2 separate regions of the Homo sapiens genome follow, and region 2 is linked to region 1. Evidence: promoter capture Hi-C in 16 types of primary human blood cells and fetal thymus (Javierre and others, 2016). All regions are on one chromosome and are shown on one strand. Each heading gives the region's core, a stretch centred on a gene start or on the middle of the fragment in contact. The rest is flanking DNA. Distances are from core to core; before and after follow the strand shown.

The links. The method cuts DNA at HindIII sites, captures the fragments that hold promoters and counts their contacts. A CHiCAGO score of 5 or more calls a contact.
Region 2: a fragment that was not itself captured here is called in contact with the fragment with the promoter of UBR5 in region 1 in 1 of 17 cell types (fetal thymus); the score reaches 7.7 in fetal thymus.

What each region holds. Positions count from the first base shown.
Region 1 is chr8:102,410,211-102,414,614 of GRCh38, reverse strand. UBR5 (ubiquitin protein ligase E3 component n-recognin 5) reads left to right here and starts at 1,915. Exons shown (of 59, transcript NM_015902.6): 1 at 1,915-2,442. The coding sequence starts at 2,381. It overlaps LOC105375683 (a long non-coding RNA gene), which reads right to left and starts at 2,276. Exons shown (of 5, transcript NR_168428.1): 1 at 1,604-2,276. RefSeq lists enhancers at 501-550, 651-760, 1,322-1,591, 1,966-2,744, 2,745-3,523 and 2 more and silencers at 1,742-1,941, 1,972-2,051, 2,112-2,551. The HindIII fragment of the contact is 11,584 bases long and covers 1-4,404 here.
Region 2 is chr8:100,944,826-100,949,229 of GRCh38, reverse strand. YWHAZ (tyrosine 3-monooxygenase/tryptophan 5-monooxygenase activation protein zeta) reads left to right here. Exons shown (of 6, transcript NM_145690.3): 2 at 330-634. The coding sequence starts at 341. Among named protein-coding and RNA genes, the nearest start is that of YWHAZ, 5.0 kb to the left of the region's middle. The HindIII fragment of the contact is 2,056 bases long and covers 1,206-3,261 here.

The sequences.
Region 1 (4,404 bases), core at 666-3,165:
TGGCAGTGAGCCAAGATCGTGCCATTGCACTCCAGCCTGGGCGACAGAGCAAAGACTCCGTCTCAAAAAAAAAAAATTTTTTTTAGATCTGTTTGGCTTGAAATCTAGCAGTGTCTACTGGTCTACCTTCCTTCCTCAGGGCTCCCAGGGACATCTAATAGTGACCTTGAAATCACTTTTTAGTCTAAACTAATCTGGGCCAATGGTTGAGCTGGTAACCTACAAAAGTGTTCCATTATCTGCCTTGAGGGTACCAGGTCTGTCCTGATTTGTAAGTATTTTTTCATAAATTTTGCTCAGAAGAACTTCCTAAGCAAAACTGTGTGTGTGTGTGTGTAATTCATTAACAGACCACCTCTGTAGAAGGAATGTCATGTTCTCAGTTTTTGCCTTCGAAGAGGTACTTTATTTTTTAAAGGAGGTCATAGAAACCTTTGAGAAGAAAGTCATGAATTGGTTCCTTAGGGAAAAAAAAACAGACTTATTTGATTAAAAAAAATTTTTTTTTGAGATGGAGTCTCGTTCTGTTGCCCGGGCTGGAGTGCAGTGGCATGATCTCAGCTCACTGCAACTTGCCAGGTTCAAGCAAGTCTTCTGCCTCAGCTTCCTGAGTAGTGGGGTTTACAGGCGCGCACAGCCATGCCTGGCTAATTTTTGCATTTTTAGTAGAGATGGGGTTTCACCAAGTTGGCTAGGCTGGTCTCGAACTCCCAACCTCAGGTGATCCGACATCCTCGGCCTTCCAAAGTGCTGGGATTACAGGCGTGAGCCACTGTGCGCCGTGGCCAAAACTCTGAAAGTGTCTTATAGTAGAAACTCGGTATAAAAGATCCTATCTCGGCCAGGCGTGGTGGCTCAGGCCTGTAATCCCAGCACTTTGGGAGGCCGAGGCGGGTGGATCACCTGAGGTCAGGAGTTCGAGACCAGCCTGGCCAACATGGTGAAACCACATCTCTACTAAAAAAGAAATACAAAATTAGCCGGACGTGGTGACACATGCCTGTAATCCCAGCTACTCCATAGACTGAGACAGGAAAATCGCTTGAACCCGGGAGGCGGAGGTTGAGGTGAGCCGAGACCGCGCCATTGCACTCCAGCCTGGGCAACAAGAGCGAAACTCCGTCTCGGGGAAAAAAAAAAAAAAAATAATAATTTTCCGTTCTGATTCCACTGATCATAAATTGAACTCCTTTGTAGAACAGGTTTATCATCTTTCATTTAAAAGTAATAAAAAATCACGAATCATTTATATCAGGAAATTAGTGGAAATTTCCACATTTTGTCTTTGGGCATGTGATGGTGGTGAGGAAACTGGGGAGACCGAGGTAATAGAAGTTGCTGCAAAGCCAACTCCAGGATCCTACTATCTCCTTCTGGAAAGGCCCTTACATAATTTCCTTACTTTTCCAATAAAAGGCTGTATATGTCTTGCCCCTTAACTGATTTTACCAACTTCACCATAAATACAACTGCGGATGAAGGATGAGAAGCAACAAGAAACCCCTAAGGATCCGCCAAATAATTAGGGCTGCCCCAGGGGAATCCGAGCGAAAGAACACAAGAGCCCCTCTTCCTCCTCGCCTCCTCTGGGACACACACTTACCCTCCCTCCCGGCAGGTTAGCCCGCAGCCTCCTCCTTCCCTAACACGTGCTCTCCGGAACACTCACTCTGGAGACATCCCACCCCCGGCGGGGCTGGGCTCGGGAGCCGAACGGACCAATCGGCACGCGCCTTACAGCGTCGTGGCCCGACAACGTTGAGCAGCCCAATCGAGGGGGCCTTGCCGCCCGTTTCCCGGAGCCCCGCCTCTCGCCGCCGCGCCCCCGCCCGCCGGTCTCCTCCCTCCTCCTCCTCCCGTTTGCCCCTCCCCCGCCGCTCCGGAGCGGAGCCTGCGAGACGGAGAAACTGGGGCAGAAGTGAAGATGGCGGCGGCAGCTTCTCGCTAGTGACGCGCGGTGCGGGCTCATCTCCTTCCCCTCCTTCCTCACCTCCCCTAGTCCGGACCCCGTCCGCCGCCGGGACCAGACCGTCCCCGTAGCCCGCAGCCAGCAGCCGCCCCTCTCCTCCCCCGGCCGCCCCTCTCCCAACGCCCGTCTGCCGCTGGCCGGCGGCGCGCCCCTGGTCCCGGCCGCCTGCCTCGCACTCCGCGCTGTCGCCGGGGGAGCGGGTGGCGTGTGGATTCGCCCTCCTGCCCGCCCCTCCGGGCCGCGGACACACGCCCGGCAGGGAGGCGGCGGCGGCCCCTGCGTATTTGCTTCCCTCCATTTGGGGACTGGGAGGCGGCGGCGGCTGTGGGTTTTGGGGAGGGGTAGAGGGCTGGGGGGCGGGCGAGAGCGGGAGGGGGCCGCCCTCGAGTGGAGGACGAGAAGGAAAGCACCATGACGTCCATCCATTTCGTGGTTCACCCGCTGCCGGGCACCGAGGACCAGCTCAATGACAGGTAATAGGGCTGGCGGGTCGGCGGGCGCGGGGGGAGGGGCGCCCTTCCCTCCCTCCCCTCCCCCACGGGCCGTGCCGGGCGGGTGCGGGTGTTTACGCGCCGGCCGGCCAGCTGGGGTGGGGTGCGGGGGTCCTTACTGCCTCCTGCTAGGCTCCTTCCGGGGCAAACTTCTCATCCCGGGGGCAGGGGGCCGCGGGGGGAGCGCGGTGTAGACGGGACTCGCGGTGTAGACTGGAGAGCGCTCTGTAAACCCCCTTCCCCCTCCCGCAAGGAGCGGCGTTGAACTCGGCGGAGATGGGGGGGTGGTTTCTGGCTCCCGGGGGGCAGGCGGTAATTACTGCCCGGCCAAGGCCCGAGGAATCCATATTAGTCAAAGTTGAATTGAGACAGACAATGCGGATGGGGGATGGTGGAGGTAAAAAGAGAGGGAAGAGGAGAAGCGGGGCCAGGGGCCCCGGGGTGGGCTGGGCTGGGCTTGTCCCGGGCCCCCGGCAGCTGTGTCCGGTGGGGTGGTCTGGACCTGGGGATCCCGGGGTCGGGTTGGGGAGAGAAGCCGATTCCCGGCAGATTGCTGGGAGCGGGCGGGGGGTGGGGGGAAGGTGATAGTTGGGGGAGGGAGTGAGGGAGGAAGCGCCATGATTATTGTTATTATTATTAAATTTGAGCCCCTGCAGTGAGGTTTGCCTGCCCCGGGAGGGGATGGATTCAAGCGGGGGTGGGGAAGTGCATTGGATTCCCTTTACTCTCCTCCTGAAATGGTGCTGGCAGCTCCTGCTACTAGCCCCTGTGGTGCGAGCTTTTTTGTTTCCTTTTCTATTCTAATGATAGTGTTTTCCTGAGTTGTAATTTGACAGCTGAAAACCGTGCGTAGAGTGTCAAAGGAAAACTCTTACGTTTGCAGTTCGCAATGCTGCTTTTCTTAACACGCTGTAAATTTCTGGGTTGGGTTTGCTATGGGCGGAGGATGAATTATGATTTTATTTTATGTTTTGTCTTTTATAGGCTGTTTTGGTTTGGATTTCTCCTTTTCTTCCGCCACCGTTCCTTGCCAGTTTAGGATATTGAATTGCAGTGCCGCATGCTCTCAGGGAACTGAGATAAGGCAGGAAAAGTTCCTTCACTGTTGGAAAACAGACTCAGGAGGTTGAGGGAGGCCTCCATTAAAGCATGTCTTAGAATCTAAGACTCAGATCTAATGATGGGCTAAATGTTTACAGGATCACAAAGTGGAGCATTTTAAGTCTTCCTCTCTCCCAGTACTTCACTGCTCTCTACATTTCTTTTGCGTATAGAAGGCCATCTGGTCCCAAGTTTAGAAGTTACATAGAATTTTTGCTAAGTGACCGGGTGACTTAAGTTGCATGATGCCCTGTTTGTCATGCGCTTCCCAGAGGGAGGAAGAGGCCTAACTTGCTGCTGAGATACTGGCCTCTTGTGTCAGTGTATCTAACCGCCTCAAGTGGAGCAGACAGCTTTTAAATCCAGAGCTGGCGGTTTAGTTTCTGCACTTGGTTCGGATTTGCCTAATCTTTGCTGTAGCCATATTGTATTTAACATGTTTGGGAATCTTTTGAAATACTTACTGAAAATACTAACTACTCAGAGTTGTCACATAGTTCCTTTAAATTCTGAAATAACTTTTTAGTTATTTAACATTTTGTTATGTGGTTCTTAGCCTGACTTTACTTCATTAAAGATCTTTTGGAGACATTAACATAAAATTTTTTGGTAAAATTTAGAAACAGGCTAGTAGTGAGGATAGCTCTACGGTCATTAACAGAACCATGTTGGTAGTGCTTGTCTTGTTACTTAGAAAACCGCACCAGAGAGAAGAGAGGTAGGGCATGTTTTCTATATTAGTCCTAACTTTATGTACCAAGAAACCTGACTAGCTTACTCAGTTGGCTGTGCATGCCAAAACCTATTTTGCGGTTGTGTTGGGCACTTTGATTCATTTTTGAG
Region 2 (4,404 bases), core at 984-3,483, 1.5 Mb after region 1:
GATTTTGATCAGGTAAGATTAGGGGTAGTTTTTGAGGCAGCTTTTGGAAGTAATTTTGACATGTGAAATTTGGGTCTTCTGAACAAATTTTAAGTTTTGCTACACTGATGTGTTAATGGCTGTAAGTTTACCTCTGATGCTGAGTATGCTAAATTTTTTTCCCTTTTTTGACTATCCTTTTGTGAGGCTGCATTTTAATTCCTCATGTGAACAGTCTTTCACAGGCAGTTAGGTTTCAGGTTTAAAAAACTCATTTACCACAGGTATAATTTTGAGTCTGTTTATTTTGATGGGAAAAATTTTAAATACTCCTTTTTTCCCCCCTGCAGAACATCCAGTCATGGATAAAAATGAGCTGGTTCAGAAGGCCAAACTGGCCGAGCAGGCTGAGCGATATGATGACATGGCAGCCTGCATGAAGTCTGTAACTGAGCAAGGAGCTGAATTATCCAATGAGGAGAGGAATCTTCTCTCAGTTGCTTATAAAAATGTTGTAGGAGCCCGTAGGTCATCTTGGAGGGTCGTCTCAAGTATTGAACAAAAGACGGAAGGTGCTGAGAAAAAACAGCAGATGGCTCGAGAATACAGAGAGAAAATTGAGACGGAGCTAAGAGATATCTGCAATGATGTACTGGTGAGAATCAATTCAGTCTGGCTTCATTATACTGTAGGGTCCCTATGAGTATCAGTTACATTACTCTTAACTTTTTGTTTGGTTTTTCTTTTCCTTCTAAACATTGTGTGTTCCAAATTTAAAAGTCTTCATGGTGTCATGACTAAAAAGATGTTAAGACAATTATAGATACGTGTATGTAAAATAATTGCAACAATGATTATGAAACAGTTCAGTTTTGTTAAAAATAACAGACTTTAGTATTGTATTTTATATTAATTGAAAATATAAACTAATTGTGTTACTGTTTTACTTATGGTTAGAATATTTGTAGTAGCTCTATAGCTGGTTATCTTAAATGTACATCTGTGGATAAAGGAATTTTACATACTTTAGGTAAGAGAGATGTAATAGGATACTCATTGTAGAAATAGTACTCTTCTCAGGATTAGCCGCTATAATGTTAATGTAATGAGTCAACCATGCAGAAAACTCTGGCGTCACAACTATGAAACCTCTTCCTGCATTGAATTCTTGAAGGTAAATTTTGAACACTCACAACCATGATGAAAGGTTATGAACAACTCAAGCTTGATTTTCCAGTTTGAATCGAGTATTTTAAGTATTCAGTACTTACTGTGTTGAAGCACTGCGCTTAAAAGAATTAAACTACATTTTGGTTAATTTTAATCTGTCATATAAAGTAGGGCTTTTTGATCAAGAATAGTTTAAATTTGAGGATAAACCAGTAGAGAATCCAACCAAGCTGGCAGTTTTTGGAATAATATTTAAAGTGGTTTTACTAAATGGTTACACTTAACCAGTATGGAAGGGCTCTGATATACAAAGAGGGGCAGCATCTCGATTTTTCTGGACAGATTACTGAATCTGGAACTCAGTATGGAAATCCAGGTTTGTTACTTACTATATGAACCTTGTTTATGGAAGAAGTGCTATAATGAGCAATAGGATAATGTCTGATGTGGTTGTGGGTTTGGGGTTTTTGTTAAAGTTGTGATGATACTATCATTTCTTTACATTTGTATTTACTAATGGAATAGCATCAGTTCCTAAACTGTAATTTTCTCAAATGATACTTACTTGACACTGTCTTTTTAAAGAATAGTGATTTTTTAAACATGCTTATTTGGGTTCACAGCCACAAACTCAATGAGGCATCTGTCTTGGGGCATTTTTTTGTTCTTTGCTTATTGAAACCTTTAGAATGATAGCTACTATTTGTATCTAAGTTGAAAAAAGGAATATCTTGCTTTTATTGGGGCCAAGTGACAAATGTCTGTTTTGTGATTTTGCTAAGGTAATAAGAATATTTAAATTTTGTTTTTTGTTTTTTTTTTTTTTTGAGACGGAGTCTTGCTCTGTTGCCCAGGCTGGAGTGCAGTGGCGCGATCTCGGCTCACTGCAAGCTCCGCCTCCCGGGTTCACGCCATTCTCCTGCCTCAGCCTCCCGAATAGCTGAGACTACAGGCGCCTGCCACTGCGCCCGGCTAATTTTTTTGTATTTTTAGTAGAGACGGGGTTTCACCATGTTAGCCAGGATGGTCTCGATCTCCTGACCTCGTGATCCGCCCTCCTCAGCCTCCCAAAGTGCTGGGATTACAGGCTTGAGCCACCGCGCCCGGCCAAATATTTAAATTTTGAAAATGTGATTTTTTTTTTCTATAATAAAAAATGTATTGGGTTTTTTTGTTTTTTTTGTTTTTTTTTTTTGCTCACCTTACTAACTAATATCTGTGTATGTGTAATTCAGTTTTGTTCAGTCTGGAGTGTTTTTCCCAATTATTACACCTGATCGAAAAGTTTTTATTTTGGCTTCAAAGGGTGTGTTACACATTAACATTTCCCTTAAGACAAAAGTCAATTTTAGGAATAAAAAGGAATGTAACATTTACCTTTTACTAACACGCTTATTTGCAATACCAGGTAGGTATGTGCATGTTTTCCATATACAAAGTATAAAAGTTCCTGTCATTGTGAGTCTTTTCCAAGGAAAAGACTTGTAGCAGGTTTGTTTTTTGTGTATGTTTGTTTGTTTGTTTGTTTTGAGACTGAGTTTTGCTCTTGTCACCCAGGCTGGAGTGCAATGGCACCATCTCAGCTCACTGCAACTTCCGCCTCCCGTGTTCAAGCAATTCTTCTGCCTTGACCTCCCGAGTAGCTGGGATTACTGGGCGTGCACCAGCACGCCCAGCTAATTTTTGTACTTTTAGTAAAGATGGGGTTTCACCTTGTCGGCCAGGCTGGTGACCAGGTCACGTCTAACTCTTGACCTCAGGTGATCCACTCGCCTTGGCCTCCCAAAGTGCTGGGATTACAGGAGTGAGCCACCACGTCCAGCCCAACTTGTAGCAGTTTTGACTATGCTTCCCTTTAGTTTCCTTATGAAGAAACTTTGTTTGCATAGAACCAGTAGATGAGGATAACAAGATAATCTCTTCATATAAATAGTTTCTTCTTGTTATGATTATTAAGGAAGTTCACTCTGGTCCCTACCCACATCGTTACCCTCCAGAATAGCACTGGCTTCCCAAAAAGTTTTAATGGTATTTACACTTTGAAAGTTTGGATAAATGAGAGTTTAATTTCTTTACTATACAAATGGCTTTGAAGAGAATTCTAAACAAGCTTTTGCTTCCAGCCTTGGTCTTTTCAGGAGTAAGACTTAGTGATCTTTGCATACTCAACGTGTAATAGATGCTCAAATATTTGTTAAACAAGCAGAAAGGCTTCTTTAGAGAAAGAGCATAGAATTAGGTCAGCAGCACTGCAAAATTTCCCTAGCTTTTTCTTTTTCTGCTTGGGAAAATTTGATATTTACCGATAATAGGCTTCTTTTTCCTACCATCTTTTTCAAATAGGTCACATCGACTCTGGAAACATATTGCATAAAATTCCTTCTGCCCTTTCTGTGAGATGGAAGAATAAAATGTAGCAGAACTGATATTTCTACTAGAAAAAGTTATTGAATCATTATTAATGATTAGTAAAAATATTTTAAATTATATTTTTAAGATCTTACATGATAAAAAATCAATTATAATTTTTTATTACTCCAGCCTTTTCTGGGCTTTGATATATATATTTTTTAATTTGAGAAAAATAAGCAGGTGTCCCTTTGCAGAAATAATAGTATTGGCTTGTGGCATTAGTGATAACCAGATTTTTTATATTGAGCACCTATTTTATAATAGCTATGAAAATAAACTTTCTTCCTACAAAAAGCAGCTAATCTCCAAAGTTCTGAGTTTTTCTGAAGAGCTCTTTAGTAACCCATTCTGGTTATATGTATTTATCTATTGTTTAACCATTTAATAAGCAAAGAGCTTGGACCATGTTGCATATTACAAGAGTAAATAGAGCATTATGGCGGGAAGTGGTCACTGGCATGCTCTTCACAATGTGGACTTTGCATTATGTAAAAGAACTTGGGTTTCTTCTCTTCCACGTGTTAATTTCAAACTGCAATATGTGAACTAATGCAATCTGCCTTTCCTGCCAGATGCTTAGACAAAAGCTCTCTTGGTAGTTGGGGAGGGACTCAACACTAGTACCTCTTTAAACCTGAAAGATGGCAGCCAAAAATTGGGTAGTTTTTATCTTGCACATGATGAAATGAATACCAAGGAAATACAGTCTAGGAAGCCTCTTTCAAACTCAAAGAAGTATGTCGAGGTGAATAATGGAGCTCAAGATACTGAGTCAAACTAGTTTTACCATTTAATAGATGCATGGCCTGAGGAAATCACTCAGTCCCTCTGAGAAAACTAAGC